2 separate regions of the Homo sapiens genome follow, and region 2 is linked to region 1. Evidence: promoter capture Hi-C in human tissues and cell types (Jung and others, 2019). All regions are on one chromosome and are shown on one strand. The core of a region is centred on a gene start or on the middle of the fragment in contact, and the rest is flanking DNA. Distances in the headings are between cores, read along the strand shown.

Region 1 (5,677 bases), core at 1,082-3,581:
CGATAGCAATCATGAAGCCTTTTAACTAGTTATGCTGCAATGAAAGTGAAATGGGTCACTACCTGTGACCTATTTATGCTCAGTGGAAGAAGCAGGATGGTAGGGTACATGAGGATGATTATACAGAGCACTGGCAGGGGACACTCACGTAGATCATCCAGGCTGCATAACGTTCTTTGAGGTTGTACAGCACAGCAGGCTCATGCAGATGAGTCATCATGGCCATATCCTCGATCTTGTCATATTTGGGAGGGTTCATGGGGAAGACCTGATCATCCTTCACTGTCAGAGTCTGGTAAACAGGAAAGATAACCGTTTACATTAATTGAGTGACCAAACAACAACAACAAAAATCAATAAAATGTGGCAAGCTCCTGGGATTCTACTCACCGCTCCTCCCTCAGTCTTCACCGTCACTTTTCCTCCTTCTCTGCTCTGGATGGTCCCTTTGACAAAGGATTCTTTGGGCTCCGCCACAAAGACAGATGTTTTGGCATCAAAGGGCCTATTCTGGGCCTCAATGCGCTCCCTTTCAGACTTTCGGAGGAAAGGAGCAGCCTCCCCAAAAACAGCCAATTCTGAGTCTGAACTCATGGCTGCTGAACTCAGAGGTCCTAAAGGAGATAAAACTTTCACATTAGAGAGTCTGGATTGCCATGTATACCAATAAATCTTAATATTTATTGTATTTCATAGGCCCAGTTGGAAATTCCACTAGACAGGTCTACTGTTCACCATACTATAGTTACTGAGACAAACATAATCACAAGAACGAAAATGCATCAGGTGGTCTCTGTGTACCCAATGCCGTATTTAGGGCTTTGCATCCACTGTCTTATTTCATCCTCCAGGACTCACATTCTCATTGGGAACTGAATTACAGTCCAGTGCTGCTGTCAAGTAGCTTGTGACCTTGGGTATGTCACTTGATGTTTTTGAGCCTAAGTGACTCCATCTTTAGAATAGGGATTATAAATTCTGCCTTTCTAAATTCACAGCCCATGATATATGTGAAGATACTTTGAAAAAGAGGTTTAAATGATGACTGAGAAAGTAATTTGAAATTGTTCAGGCCACCATTTATATATGAGATGTCATGAATTATCATGTCACAAAATTCCATGTCTTGAATGTAATGTAGAAGAACTTTATTTCCTCCTTTACCTGTTCAGCCAGATTTGTTGAAGTTCAGTGGCTTATTGGAGATTATAATTTTGTTTACCTTTTTTTCTTTTAGGTTAGGTGCTTAGTATAGTTTCTCTGACATAATTTTTTGCATATTAAATACAGTTCATCAGTTTAACCCCCTTAAACTAATTAGGGATAAAAACAGTAGCCAACGTTAACCTCATTCTTCTACATCTAAGGGCTCCCTTTACTATTCCAAATTTTCCTTTGAAGCATGCAGGCCCTGTTTGCTCCGTTCTATGTGATCTGTAGGTTGCCAGTGGTATCAGTAGAATGAAAGGTTTGGCAAATAATTCTACCGCAGTCATTACATGATCAAATTACTTGAAACTCATTTGAATCGTCTCTTCTAGTCTCTCCCTTTAGAAATGCAGTAAGTAGTGGGAGGGCAGATTAATACCTCTATTATATATAAGAAAAATGCCACAGCACTCGGCATTGTGTAAGGTGACTTTTTACAAGGGCTTTAAGAAGTTTAAAGAAAGGATTGTCTTACTTCCATTTTACATTGTTGGACATTATGTTTACTAAATGAATTCTAACAGCAGGATACATTTTTATCAAATTTGAGATTTTTAGCCAGGGAATCTGAGGGTAGACTCTTTTTTTCCTGCACAGACAATATATTTATTCAAAGCGATTCCCCTGCTCAAATGTCACCCCACCAATGCTTGAGCCGTAAATGAGGATGTGTGCATTGTCCTGAAAGGACAGTCCTCCCTTTCTCACCGCTTTCCTGAAGCACAGTTGTTAAAGGGTATTTACTGAGACAAGCACTTTCTGAAAGGTTGCTAAGTGACAGAAATCCATCCCAGAGCCTCTTGCATTCTCCTCCAGGAACTGGTTAGTCCAAATCTTACCTTGTTAGCAAGTGAGAAGATGTAGCCTGGGAGTGAGACAGTTCTATAAAAGAAAAGGGAAAAGCACTTGATTAGTTGACCAAAAAGAGGGGGAAAAAATCCCATTTATGGCATGGCTTGCTATTGTAAACAGAAGTAACAAAATTCATAGAGGTAAAACGTGCAGTTCCAGAAGGAGCAGTACCAGAACTAGCAGCTGCTGCTGACACTGGGCGGTGTGACCAGTGTCCCTCTTGAAAGGCCCGTCCTGCTCCCACTTACCTTGGAGCTTTTTAAAGCAGGACGAGTCAGCCTCATTCCAAGGGCTCTTTTATATGGATAGCTATGGAAACAATGCAGCTGCCTCTTCTTTCTTAAGTCAAAAGGAATTGTTTGGCAAAATACCTCTTGGCAATCTAGCGTCCCCGCATAATTCTCATTCATATTAAGAATGGTTGGATATAATTAGAAATATTTTTCTTATTGAGTATGTGGATAAATCTCCTATGGATAATTTGAGAAGATGATCTGAAAGAGTCAAGCTGGTGGATAAAGGCAGTGGCTGGGCAGCCAGGATACCTGGCTTCCCTCGGAACTTCTTTTTGGCTTTGCTGGGCACAGCATTCGGGCTTGCCTCGCATCACTTTCGCATATTTCACGTGTTAAGTCACATAAATAAAATACAAATATGTATTTTAATTTTGTGACAGTTAATTTTTACCTGTTGGTCCTTTCTTTCCAGCCCTGCAAAATTAAGCGATGTGCCTTCAACAACTTAAAGAGACAGAAGGTCCTCTCTGTTATTCCAATATTCCTGTAGTTTCAGGAATTTCCTTGCTCGCTCACCTTTTTGCTTTTGCCAAAGTTGTTCCCTCTACTTAGCACACCATTTCCTGTCCCCCTACCCATTTGACTTGCCTGAAATAAAAAAGGTTGAATATTTTCTAGTAGCAGAGGTGTTTTTAGAGAGTACTTTTCAACATTTTTTCGTGTCATAGCCCGCTGAGAAAAAAATGACAATATTAGTGTAGCATGCTAGAGTAATGTGGAAGGGATTTGTCTATATCTGTAAAGGGCTTGGGGAGAATATTTTTAATTTTTTTACATTCCTTTATGTAATATAAATATAATAACTATGATACACATAGCATTAAGGAAAATATTAAATACTGAATATGTCGGAAACTTACAAATAATATCTTCTTGAAAATCCTAAGGAAAAATTTGAGCTATATCCTACAAATAAAACTTGTTTGTTTCTGACTTTATTCTTGAAATATGACACAAATTTCCAGATCAAATTTTCAAAAATGATACAAACAGTATCTGTGTTCTTGATAATTACCATAGCGGGGATTTTTGTCCAAGAAGGAGGGATGAAAATGGAAAACCAAGTAATTTACAACTGTTGGAGTATTTTAAAAATTCACCAGTTCTTCTTTCTCCTTCATTGAAAAATATAATGTTGAATATTCTCGTACAGTGAAAATAAGTTTTTAATCCATTTAAACTCTCTCTTTCATATCAAATATTTCAAAGGATAATGAAGCTCTAATCTTCAAAAACTTCATGGGTTAAAGGAGTCATCAGCATTGGTCAAAGGGCACACCAGTCACAAATACACACAAGTACCTGATCTATTCAAAGTCTAAGGTTTGGAGCTATTACTGTGGGCTACCTCTTCCAGTACAACCTACTTAGCCTTCTGGCACCTTTACTCTGGCTGGATGCTCTCTGGGCTGCATGCCTTGTCCCAGGCATCCTGGAACACCAACCCTCCCAGCAATTCCAGGGGTCTCTTGACTGCAGAAGACAGCATTACATTCTCAGCTGGCTGCTGAAGTCCTTCTTGGTTCCATCCAGCACATGGCAAATACCACCATTGTGCTTGCCTCCTGTAGGAATCATAGGTTATGCTGTCAGACTCGAATGCAGCCCAGTCAACACTCTGAGGAACCCTTAGTCAGCCTTCTCCCAGCTAGGAGCCACCTCCCAAGGTCCCCCTCCCCATCCAGCCATTCTGAGACTGAAGAGATCAACATTTTATGGCACATCAGTTACCTTTTTGATGCCAAGATACACTGGTTGGGAAGCTCTGTTTTAAGGTGAGCTGTTGAGCTGTTTTTCCAAACTAAACAGCCATTTTTAGTGCCCACAGCAATAGTTTAATATTCTCTTGTTCCATCTCTGCTGCCAATGGGCATTTTCCTTATGTTTTATTAAATAGTTCTTATTTTATGTTATTTACAAAATGATCTTCACTTTTTTTTTTTTTTTTGAGATGGAGTCTCACTCTGTCACCCAGGCTGGAATGCAGTGGCATGATCCCGGCTCACTGCAACCTCCGCCTCCCGGGTTCAAGCAATTCTCCTGCCTCAGCCTCCCAAGTAGGTGGGACTACAGGCACATGCCACCACGCCCAGCTAATTTTTTTGTATTTTTAGTAGAGATGGGGTTTCACCATGTTAGCCAGGATGGTCTCAATCTCCTGACCTTGTGATACACCCGCCTCGGCCTCCCAAAGTTCTGGGATTACTGGTGTGAGCTACCGCGCCCAGCCTGATCTTCAATTTTAAGTCAATCCATGGTTCTATATTCTGTTTCCTCATTTGGTAAACTCCTTCAGTGAATACTGTGTTCTATAGGTAGCCGCTGTCTAATACATTGTTTTTGACTATAAAGAAGAAAATGCAAAGCCTTGTTCCCAGTAATTAAGAGACACACCTTAATTGTTCCCGTGCCACTTGGCTCAGGATCTGTGACTGTTAAATGTTCTCTGAGAACAAGAGCTTAAGGAATATGTCATTCGGGATCATCTTTTCCACTATGTAAACAGGTCAAAGACATACATTCACTTTGTGTCCTTTTCTTGATTTCATTGTATTTTTACCACTGCTGCAATAAGTCAGAGGCTTTCTACTTTGCATTGCTCACACCTGGGACTATCTGTCACATTTTGGTGTGGTGACAGCTTGGGAATGAGCTAATTTAAGAGTGCTGATACTCTCTCTGAATCTCCTTGCATTGTCTATGCCATGCAAGGAGATTCAGAGAGAGTAGCAGCCACTGATCTGGTCTTCAGGAAGGTTACAATCTGAGAAATCGGGAGAGCACTAATAGATGGCTCAAGTCACCTTCAGAACAACGTGACGGCGGCCTTTAAAAGTTACAGTGTGTAAATCCTTTGCAGAAAAGGATCCATATTTTCTGCATCTACTTGATCCTCATCAACACTTAGGATAGTGCTGACATGTAGAAAGTGCTCTGAAATTCTAGTTTATAAATTCTCAGATGCCCTGGGTTTCTTTATCCTAATCATTCTTGTCCCCAATAACTGAAATTGGGACCTGGATTTAACTTTTGGCTGCATACCAGCTGGATATCCTTGGAAATTTACTAAACCTTCTCAAGACTCAGCTTCCTGCTCTATAAAAGGGATAAGTGCTACCTCATAGGGGTTTGTGAGGAGTAAACAAGACACGAAAGTGCTTAGAAGCTGAAAACAGTGCCTGGTACCCATCACTCATTCAACTGATATTAACAATTGTGATTACTATTGCCCCCCACAGTTTGTTAGTTCTTATTCTGAAGTCTCTGCAGAAGTGAAACTAGTTTTCTTTCTGATCTCTATAACAAGACATGCTCCCTTG
Region 2 (5,677 bases), core at 1,737-4,236, 40 kb after region 1:
AGACTTAGTTGTCATCTTTCCTTAGGCATCTCCTGGCCTTGGCAGTTTCTTAGACTTTCCTTGCTTTTGACAACCTTGACAGTTTTGAGGAGTACTGCGATGGTATTTGACAGGATGCTTCTCTATTCTCTGATGTTTTTCTCAGGTCCCATGTTTTGGGGCTTGGGGACAAAGATCACAGAGGTAAAGTGCCATTTTCATCCACATGATTTGTGACTGTTAATGTTACCTTTGATCACCTGGCTGAGGTAGGTGCCAAGTTTTCCACTCTAAAGTTGCTTCTTTTCCACCTTTTCCATACTGTACTCTTCAGAAGGAAGTCACTATGGGCAGCCCACACTCTTTGTCAGGAGTTATGCTCCCCCTCCTTGAGGGCAGAATACCTACATAAATTCTTTGCAATTCTCCTGCATAGGGAATTGCCTCTTCTCCGCCATTTATTAATTTATTCAGTCATGTATTTATATCAGTATAGATTCATGAGTATTTATTTTATACTTTTGGTTATAATCCAATGCTTTTTTTTTTTTTTTTTTGCTCATATTGTTGCATATTTAGCCACTGGAGGCTCTTTTTTTTCTTATTTTTTTTGAGATGGAATCTGGCTCTGTCGCCCAGGCTGGAGTGCAGTGGTGCAATCTCAGTTCACTACAAACTCTGCCTCCTGGGTTCAAGCCATTCCCCAGCCTTGCCTCCCGAGTAGCTGGGATTACAGGTGCCCGCCACCATACCCAGCTAATTTTTGTATTTTTAGTAGACATGGGCTTCACCATGTTGGCCAGGCTGGTCTTGAACGCCTGACCTCAGGTGATCCACCTGCCTTGGACTCCCAGAGTGCTGGGATTACAGGCATGAGCCACCGTGCCCAGCCTAGAGGCTCTTTCATTTAGCTCCTGTGCTCCTTTGACATATCCCCATTATTGTGTGTGTAGGTTCTTTGTTTATTCATTTGTTTGAGTACTTTCTTACTTTCTGGCACTACGAGATGCTCCAAGCTCATCTTGTATATTTCCCTTCCCAGTCATTAATTCAGCTGTTTCTCCAAGGAAACATTATCCCTTTATTGGATAATGGCTTTAGAAGGCAATACCTGGGCTCTACGCATGCTCATTGCTACTGGAGTATCATTTCTTTTAGGCCTTTTCAGCTGACAGAGCAAAGAAATAAAAGTGTGCATACAAACCTATGTGTATACACATGTCTGTACATAACAATCTCTATATTAAGCTCAACATGAGTTCATAGTGATGAACTTTATAATCCATTACCACATGGACCATTCTAGCCTCCTCCCCTCGCTTATCTGTAAACTTCCACTTCAAGGGTGAGAAACCTGGCTCCATAGTTGGCCTTCCACTTACTTAGTTGTTCAAATCCCAATATACATGCATAGCAGTATCAGAATTATTACCCTGGACCTCCCTGGGAAACAATCGAGTAGAGTACAGTGCTCATATGCAGTTCCTTTTTCTTTTAGGTTTACAGATGCCATTTATGTCCAGAGCTACTGAGGTCAGCACCTTTTCTCCCCATCTCCTTCAGTAAGATTGTTTCATAAATTTGTCATATAGTTACATTCTCTTATCATAGTCTGCATTCCTTACTGGGATCCCTTGACCTCCTAAATCATTCTTAAAGTCTGCATATATTAAGGTTCATTCTTTGTGCTATAAGTTCTGTGGGTTGTGACAAATACATAATTTCATTTATTTACCATTACAGTATCAGACAAACAGTTTCACTGGTCTGAAAATCCCCTCATTCACCTATACATTCTACTCCTTCTTCCTGAGCCTCTGGCAGCCACTGATTTTTTTAATCTTTCTATACTTTTGGCTCTTATAGAATGTCATATAATTCAAATTATATGGTATGTATCCTTTTTAGACTGGTTTCTTTCGCTTGCAATATGCATTTAATGTTCCTCCATGCTTTTTCCATGACACAATAGCTCATTTATTTTTATCACTCAATAATGCTCCATTGTATGCATGTACCACACTTTGTTTATCCATTTAATTACTAAGGGATATCTTGACCGCTTTCAGTTTTTAGTGATTTCCTAAAGCTGTTATCAACATTCACGTGCAGGTTTTTGTGTGGACATAAGTTTTCAAATCGATTGGATTGGTCAATTCTTTTATGACGTGAAACTCAAAGGGAAAAGTGGATCTTTTTCATCTAAACCTGGTAGGAGAGGATAAATCACTTTCCAGTGGTTTGTGATTCCTTTATAATTATATAAAACTAATTCTTTTCATTTCTATCCAACTTATTTATTTATTTATTTATTTATTTTGAGATGGAATCTTGCGCTGTCGCCAGGCTGGAGTGCAGTGGTGCGATCTCGGCTCACTGCAACCTCCACCTCCCGGGTTCAAGCCATTCTCCTGCCTCAGCCTCCCGAGTAGCTGGGACTACAGGCGCCACCACCATGCCCGGCTAATTTTGTGTATCTTTAGTAGAGACGGGGTTTCACTGTGTTAGCCAGGATGGCCACCATCTCCTGACCTTGTGATCCACCCGCCTCAGCCTCCCAAAGTGCTGGGATCACAGACATGAGCCACGGTGCCCGGCCTCTATTCAGCTTCTTAAAATTATCATGTTATCAACATTTATCCTCTTCTTCTGCCACTACCACCCTTAGTTTTAACTATAAGCAGCTGTACTAAGACATTCAGCACCTGTTTAGGAACTAAGAAGTTTTCCGTAATATCTATTTGAGCATGAGTACCCTGAGCATGATTGACATAATGATGTACAAAGTGGGCCTTTTCTAGCTACTCACTGAGCAAAACCTGCTGTCGCAAGAAGCATCAATGGGGAATTCTCCAGCGGAATTGCAATGAACTATTCTGGATTCCCAGTTTAAGGGACGGAGGTCGGAGTTCTGCTAACATTCCAAGCTCGACTTTGTCAGTGTTCTCTCTAGTTCTCTTCTTGCTAGTCCCTTAGATAGTGCTTTCATCATGCCGACACTCAGGGCTCTCTCTGATAGTAGGCTCCCATTGTCACTGGGGAGCGAGAGTTGAAATTCTTCACATTAGTTGAATTATGCTATTTGCTGAATGCTGTGTACTGGAGAAGGGAGATCTAGGGCCATCAGGTTCATCTAGAGAATTTTTCTTTGCCCAAAGGCAGGAGCCAAATGTAACAAGATGCTAAGAATTCAAGAAGAAGAATCATCATATAAGATGAGGGGCTGGGTGCAGTGACTCACCCCTGTAATTGCAGCACTCTGAGAGGCCGAGGCAGGAGAATTGCTTGAACCCAGAAGTTTGGGTTCAAGCTTGAGCAACGTGGTGAAACTCTGTCTCTATGAAAAATACAAAAAAATTAGCCAGGTGTGGTGGCACGCACCTGTGATCCCAGCTACTTGGGAGGCTGAGGCGAGAGGATCGCTTGAGCCCAGGAGGTTGAGGCTGCAGTGAGCTGTGGTTGCACCACTGCACTCCAGCCTGGGTGACAGAGTGAGACCCTGTCTCAAACAAAAACAACAAAAGAATCCAAAACCAGGCACTTCCAAACCAGGGAGCATAGGTTGTTTTACAAACTCACTGCCCTTTTCTTTTCCAATATCCCTACTATTTGTTTTGCTGGTGGTTATGGTGATGGGAAAGGATGTAATTGAGAATGGAACATGAAATAAGAACTTGGTCATAACCTGTATAAAACTGTGTCAAAGTTTACTCCTTAAATGTGTACTTGAAACACCCATTTCTTGTTTCCAGGGTGCCAACAGATGTCGTTTTGTAAGAAAAGCTCCCCAAAATTCTGTGCATCGGACTCATTTATGCAATCTCTGCCTACATTGGGACCCCACTGAAGCCACGACCCCTAAGGCAGGGCTGGACTGCCTTGCAGGTCTATGAAGTTCTCCATTCCAAATCTCTCTCAATTGTGATTTGCATTCTACATTTATAGGCAGATAATTAGCTACATTGCAATGTCTAATATCTTTCATATATATATATATTTTTGTTTTTTTGTTTTTTTTGAAATGGAGTCTCACTCTATTTTCCAGGCTGGAGTGCAGTGGCAGGATCTAGGCTCACTGCAAGCTCCGCCTCCCGGGTTCACACCATTCTCCTGCCTCAGCCTCCCGAGTAGCTGGGACTGCAGGTGCCCGCCACCACGCTCGGCTAATTTTTGTATTTTTAGTAGAGGCGGGGTTTCACCGTGTTAGCCAGGATGGTCTCAGCCTCCTGACCTCGTGATCTGCCTGCCTCGGCCTCCCAAAGTGCTGGGATTACAGGCATGAGCCACTGCACCTGGCCTCACATATATATTTATACAGATATTTCAGTGCCCCTTCGGAGGCTTATGTCCTGAGGTACATGTTTGGCAAATATCAACATTCTATAGGAAATTTCAACTGGACCTATTTACAGATTAAATAAGACATTAACCTAAAAACAGAATCACCAATTGACATTTATTTATTTATTTATTTATTGAGATGGAGTTTCGCTCTTGCTGCCCCAGGCTGGAGTGCAGTGGCACAATCTCAGCTCACTGCAACGTCCACCTCCCAAGTTCAAGCGATTCTCCTGCCTCAGCCTCCCAAGTAGCTGGGATTACAGGTGCCTGCCACCACGCCCGGCTAATTTTTGTATTTTCAGTAGAGATGGGGTTTTGCCATGTTGGCCAGGCTGGCCTCGAATGCCTGACCTCAGGTGATCCACCTGCCTTGGCCTCCCAAAGTGCTGAGATTACAGGCGTGAGCCACCGTGCCCAGCCCACCAATTGACTTTTGAAATAAGTGTTGGTATTATGAACTATTCATACATGCCAAAGAACATATATAGAATATATGTGTTGTTTAAATCATAATAACATAAACACGTGGTATCCTCCAGCTAGTTTAAGAAACACCCAGCAAAGGTATTTGCCCTCAAAGAGTCCTGTGTGCCCCTTCCTGCTATCCTTTCCAAGTTTTTCTCCCCTTACAGCTGAGGTCTTTCAGAATGTAGAAGGACCTCATACGCTTCACACTGGGACCTACAGAGGCTACCCAACTCTCCAAGGTGACCCAGAGACATAGAATGGTACCTGTTTCTACTAATTCCTGCTCCAGTGAGTTTTTCACTACATCAAATTTTTGACATTTATTTTGAACAAGGAATATTTTTCAAGTCAAAATAGGTACCTAATGGGCTGGGTGCAGTGGCTCACGCCTGTAATCCCGCACTTTGGGAGGCTGAGGTGAGCAGCTCACCTGAGGTCAGGGGTTTGAGACCAGCCTGGCCAACATGGTAAAACCTTGTCTCTAGTTAAAAATACAAAAATTGGCCGGGAGTGGTGGTGGGCACCTGTAATCCCAGCTACCCAGGAGGGTGAGGCAGGAGAATTGCTTGAACCTGGGAGATGGAGGTTACAGTGAGCTGAGATCGTAACACTGCACTCCAGCCTGGGTGACAGAGTGAGACTCTGTCTCAAAACAAATAAAAATAAAAAGTAGCTAATGATTATTATCTATAAACATCCTCTATTCGTTTTCAGCTCATATAAATGTTTCTTTTTTCTAGATCCTCAAAGGAGCAAAGGCTCAAGATTTCTATCTCATCACATAAAGAAAAAAATGAGGGAATGGAAGGGATTTATAAATACCAGAGACTATAACTCTGTGACTATAAAACAGTGACAAATTCTGACAAAGTGCTACTTAGAATCCTCT

The links. The method cuts DNA at HindIII sites, captures the fragments that hold promoters and counts their contacts. A contact is called where the count stands out against the background at its distance.
Region 2: a fragment that was not itself captured here is called in contact with the fragment with the promoter of MYH2 in region 1 in 1 of the 25 tissues and cell types used here (spleen).

The regions. Positions count from the first base shown.
Region 1 is chr17:10,547,327-10,553,003 of GRCh38, forward strand. MYH2 (myosin heavy chain 2) reads right to left here and starts at 2,332. Exons shown (of 40, transcript NM_017534.6): 1 at 2,310-2,332; 2 at 2,049-2,091; 3 at 391-614; 4 at 149-292. The coding sequence starts at 594. The region is part of intron 2 of MYHAS (myosin heavy chain gene cluster antisense RNA); the gene reads left to right. The HindIII fragment of the contact is 30,725 bases long and covers 1-5,677 here.
Region 2 is chr17:10,586,912-10,592,588 of GRCh38, forward strand. MYHAS (myosin heavy chain gene cluster antisense RNA) reads left to right here. Exons shown (of 11, transcript NR_125367.1): 4 at 1,478-1,512; 5 at 3,732-3,864. Among named protein-coding and RNA genes, the nearest start is that of MYH2, 40 kb to the left of the region's middle. The HindIII fragment of the contact is 7,023 bases long and covers 1-5,677 here.